2 separate regions of the Homo sapiens genome follow, and region 2 is linked to region 1. The links are contacts of gene promoters, found by promoter capture Hi-C in human tissues and cell types (Jung and others, 2019). All regions are on one chromosome and are shown on one strand. The core of a region is centred on a gene start or on the middle of the fragment in contact, and the rest is flanking DNA. Distances in the headings are between cores, read along the strand shown.

What was found. Contacts are between HindIII fragments. The study calls those that stand out against the background at their distance.
Region 2: a fragment that was not itself captured here is called in contact with the fragment with the promoter of EPHA5 in region 1 in 2 of the 25 tissues and cell types used here (H1 embryonic stem cells and hippocampus).

What each region holds. Positions count from the first base shown.
Region 1 is chr4:65,669,177-65,671,876 of GRCh38, forward strand. It overlaps EPHA5 (EPH receptor A5), which reads right to left and starts at 1,313. Exons shown (of 17, transcript NM_001281766.3): 1 at 386-1,313. The coding sequence starts at 566. It overlaps EPHA5-AS1 (EPHA5 antisense RNA 1), which reads left to right and starts at 785. Exons shown (of 4, transcript NR_034138.1): 1 at 785-1,497; 2 at 2,600-2,700. The HindIII fragment of the contact is 8,453 bases long and covers 1-2,700 here.
Region 2 is chr4:65,612,856-65,615,555 of GRCh38, forward strand. All of the region lies in intron 2 of EPHA5 (EPH receptor A5), which reads right to left. Among named protein-coding and RNA genes, the nearest start is that of EPHA5-AS1, 56 kb to the right of the region's middle. The HindIII fragment of the contact is 4,614 bases long and covers 1-2,700 here.

The sequences.
Region 1 (2,700 bases), core at 63-2,562:
CCACTCCTTCAAGCCCGAAATGTCACTTCCCCACGCGCCTTAAGTGAGGCCCAGCCGCACCCATCCCCCTGGAACGGGCCTCCATTCCCCAAAGGAGGCCTCGACCTCCTTTCCCCCAAGGTTTTCCACCTTCCCAGCCCCCCAACCAGCCTCTGTCCACACGCATGTTCCTTGCCCAGCACTCCGCAGCTAACGTCAAACAATGCAACCAAAAACCGCAGAGGGGAGCGAAAAGGCCAGTGGAAGGGGACGACAAATACCAATTTGAGATGAGACTGCGATTTAGTCTGCAGCAGCAGCGTCCAGCGCGCTGAGACCTGAACTCCCAGGCCCCGCCTAGCCCCTCCGCCCCAGGTCGCCACGGTCCCCACCCCCATCTCCCTACCTTCGTTGCTGGGGCTGGCCAGGAGGGTCCGGAGTGCGGCGCACAGGAGAAGGCACGTCCAGAGGGGAGCCCGTCGAGGTGCAGAGTAGCAGCCGGCCAGGGACGCTGGGGTGATGGGGGTGTCGCCGCCGCCGCTTGGGGGCCGCCGGCGTCCCGCACCCCGGGGCCCCGAGCCCCGCATCTTCTCCGAGCCTCCTCCGGTGCCGCTGTCCCGAGCGGCTCAGTCCACCGCTTCGGCCTCGCAGAGCGGCGAAGGGAGACTCGGGAGTCCTCCTTGTCCCCCCTTGGGGTCCTACGCCTTCTGGCACGCGGCTCCTCCAAATGTAGGAACCACGGATCCGGCTGAGACAGCTGAAGTTTGCTTCTGGCTCCTCTCGCCTCCCCCTTTGGTGGGGTTAAATGAAATATTAGTTCTGGTTGCTAGTGCAGATCTGGACTCGGATCAAGGGTGTCGAGAGGGTCCTGGGTCCTGTTCCTTTGCCTTTCAAAAAGACTTTTTACGGATTGAGAATTTTTAAATACCACTAGGGGAAAGGTGAAGGTTCTTTGCAGCCTTCAGTGTTGAAATGGACGAAGGTAAGGAAGGCAAATCATTTTAAGACGAAATCTCCGATTTTTTAAAAAAGGAGGAAAAAAGCAGGGTGGCTAAGGATAAAGAAAGAGGACTTGAGAAAATGTGGAGAATGAAAAACAGGAGAGCAGCGAGCAAAAGCAAAGATCCAGAGTTCAAAGAGACTGGCAGAAGGAAATAGCTGCGGGCTGAGTGCTGAAGAGGGGAGGGACTGACGGCTGCCGGCCGGTAGGAGCGCGGAGCTGCGCTGCGGCGGCCCAGGAGCTGCTGCGGTTCCCGCTGCTCGGGGAGCAGGCGGTGTGTGCGCGGCTGCGAAGTCGAGGTTGAAACTGCACCGCCAAGGCGCGCTCCTGCTGTGTCTGGAGCTCCGGCGTCTCCTCTGCCTCCCAGCTCAGCGCCTCCCACCCTCCTTCCCTCCTCCTCTTCCCAGCTCCCCCGCCCTCTGCTGCTCGCAGCCTCGCCAGTGAGAATCTACTGTAAGTGTGAGTTGCTTCGACGAAGTCACACACCCACGGAGGGAAGTAATCTGGAGGCTGCCTTGGTGAGTGTTGCCTAGCGGTCTCCGGGAAAGGCGCGTCTTCCTCCCGGGATAATTAGGGCAAGGAATCCTGACGACGCTGGCGAGGACTGGGGTTCCCGGGAGGCGGAAGGGAGATCAGCCCCAGCTCAGCCGGCGGCCCTTAGAGACGCGGGTCCCTCCGTTTGGCATCTTGCCTGCTGTCCCTCACAGGCTGTGGCATCAACAACCTTGTCGTCACATCGCCGCGCATTCGCAGGCTCTGCTGGTCCGTGGCTAGTTTCTTAAACACCCATACCGCTTACCGCTGCTGACTCTTTCTGTTCTTCCCATACTTTGATGGCTGGAATAGGATAATTACTCAATGTTTTCTTCAGAAGTAAATTGTAGAGTAAATAAAGAGGCGGTAGCTCTGTTTGAGATTTCAAGGAGTCAAAGAATTTGACTATTGAGATTTGTAGTGTGCCAGGTACTTTCATAGGTGGCGATTTAATTCATTTATTTCATTGATAAAATGTTTTAGTATTTTAGAAATTGGACGATATGCAGATACACGACATACATTCCAGTGAAATTAGCCTCGGTCAAATAAATTCAGGGTTTTGAAAAATTAATTATTTTAATTGATTGTGCCCTATAGCATTGGGAGATTTACAAACAGTGAAAAAAAAAACAGTTAAAACAATCAACTTTCTATGCTTCACCTCTATTATGTCTTTTCTTGCTTTAGTATATTCCCTCGATTTATTCATTCTTTCAAAGAGATACATTTGAAGGACAATTTTAGTACACAGGCATTTAAAAACAAAAGGCTGCAGAGAAAGCACTTACAGAAAGGTCTGATTATAGAAGAAAGATATCTCATTTAATTTCATGTATAGTAACCACTGTAAAGCTTGGGCTTCCGTTCACACCTAATAAAGGTGAGTCAGCTCACCAGTTTTGACATATCTAGAGCCTTGTTTGTCTCCACAATAAATTCCTCACTATCTTTAGCTGGTGACATTTGTTTTTTGTTTAAATATTTGCAATAAAGATGAAAGAATAAAGCAGCAGTGATGCAATTTTGTAAAGAGGTGAAAGCTCATCTTTGATTTCTTTTTTTCCTGAAATGTTTTGGCACCAGAAGTCTGAAAGCAGGTTCTTTTTATTATAATGTGCTCCGAATGGATGAAGCAAATTTAGAGGAAGAGCAGTGAATCAGTTTCTCAGTTTGGCAAAAAGCCT
Region 2 (2,700 bases), core at 130-2,629, 56 kb before region 1:
TTGCTGTGCTGAAGCTTTTTAGTTTAAATAAGTTCCATTTATCATTTTTGTTTTTGTTGCATTTGTTTTTGAGGTCTTAATCATGCATACTTCAACTAGGCCAATGTCCAGAAGAGCTTTCCATGGTTTTGCTTAGGATTTTATAGTTTCAGGTCATACATTTAAATCTATAATCCATCTTGGGTCCATTTTAATAGACAGTAGAAAATAGGGGTCCAATTTCATTTTTCTGCGTATAGCAATCCAATTTTCCCAGTACCATTTATTGAATAGGGTGTCCTAATCTCGGTATATGTTTTCATCAACAATGTCAAAGATCGGTTGGCTGTAGGTCTGTGACTTTATTTCTGGGACTCTATTCTGTTCCACTGATCTATCTGTCTATTTTTATGCCTGTATCATGCTGTTTTGGTTATTACATACTTGTAGTATAATTTGAAGTTAGGTAATGTGATGCCTCCAGCTTTATTCTTTTTGCTTAGAATTCCTTTGACAATTTGGGCTCTTTTGAGAGGTCATATAAACTATATAATTTTTTGTCTAATTCTGTGAAAAATAGTGTTGATATTTTTTATAGGAATTGCATTGAATCTGCAGATTGCTTTGGGCAGTATGGTCATTTTAACTGTATTGATTCTTCCAATCCATAAGAATGGGATGATCTTCAATTTGTTTGTGTCATCTATGGTTTATTTCATCAGTGTTCTGTAGTTTTCCCTGTAGAGATTTTTTTAGCCACTTAGTTAAATATATTAAGAATTCCAGTGCTTCTCTATTTGAGATAGAAGTAAATGAACAGCCATATGTCTATTGCAAATTCCTCCTCCTGGATTTTGTTAAGCTTGTGTCTGGCCAAAAAGTTAATATCAACCAAAAGCATACTTTTGAATAAATGTATACCTCACTTATGGAAGTTTAAAATGTTTAGTGATAGCTCTCCAATGACAATTCTAAATATTTAGTGTTTATGTTTTTTGATCATTAATTGAATGCAAATTTAATTCTGACCAACATTAGACCATAGAAGTTTACAATAGGGATTGACTATCTGAAGACAGTGATTGATCAACATTTACAGAATTTTTTATCTATCAACAATCGATATATTTTGTTGCACTTTAATATTTTACTTGAGAATTACTATAAAAACAGATGTTTCTACGAATGCCAAGAATTCTAGAAAAATATGATATATTTACAGATTTAGTGAAGTTGAAACATTAAAAAAATTAAGTCTTCACATTTATTATTCCTACTGGCGTCTTCTGTCAACTTGTTCCTTGTCTCACTATATTGTCCCTTAATTATTTTGAGGCCTGTTGCTTAGGTTATCAATCACAGATGGGAATAGTAAAATTAATTTTTCAGTGTGATTTTAGCCTTAATATTAAAACAAGCTGTTAACTGCCTTTTTCTCTGCTTATCAACACAATCCCTTTTGCCAATGTATTCTCATAACAGAAAACATACATAGAGCAAATGCAGATAACCAGTAAATCTAGTTATAGTAAAGAAACAGAATGTTTTAACATAATATCTTAGATATTATTTCATACTTTTACATCTATTTGTATATGAGCAAACTGAACTCTTGATATGATAAGGAAGCTATGCATAGAAGGTAAATGTCCCTGACCTCCCTTTATTATTCTGTTTGCTGTATCTGATAGTTTGTCAGCTATGTAAGTCCATCCTTTAGCAAAGATGGATTAGAGGGCTCCTGGATATCACAAGCTCTTAATAATATTTCTTCACCCTACTTTGGCTATTTATGCTAAATATAGGCTAATGCTTCATACATTTAACTGACTGTTTATTAGGAGAAAACCTGGCAGAAATTGAATCAAGTGATATAAAGGCAATAGGGAAGAAGTACTCTTCTATGCTCCTGCTGGGAGTATATATTAGTAGCCAGCTTTGGGAAGTGTTTGGAAATATATGGTGCATTTAAAAGTGTTTTAAACCTGGGATCTTTACATGATTCTAAAGATACATATGCCAAAGTAAGTCTGAAACACTGTAATGATCAAAAAGAAAGTACTAATGTCATCAACAATAGAAATAAATAAATGTGTTATATTCATGCTATAAATCATCATACAAGAGTTAATAGTAATTGTTATATGGAGTTTACAAGTATATAATAAAGAAAAATGTAAAATTTATAAAACAGCAAAATATACTTTACAAAGAATGCAATTATGCTAAATTGTGTTTTGTTACATTCATAACAAAGTGATAAAGTATAAAATGAACTGGAAAAATACACTAAATTCATTATCAGAAGCTTATAGATCTCTAGGAAAAATAAAATATATCATATTAACATATATGTAATGAAAGTCTCAAAAGAAGGAGTAAGAGAAAAAAATGGCAGGTACAATAGTTGATTAAATAGCAAGTATTTTACAAATTTGATTTAAAAACTTAGGTAGAAATACAAAATGCCTGCTGAAACCAATTGGGGTACATACAAAAGTTCATGCCTAGATACTTGAACATGATAAAAGCTAAAACATTTTTGAAAATTTTGAAAGCAGCAAGAGGAAATCAACTCAGTAGAGAGGAACAAGAATATGACAATAAGCTGACACCACAGATGAAACAATGAAGGCCAGAAGAAAATAGAATGACATAGTCAAAGTGCTAGAAAAACAATACTATCAACCAATAATTCTATATCTAGCAAACCTACCTTCC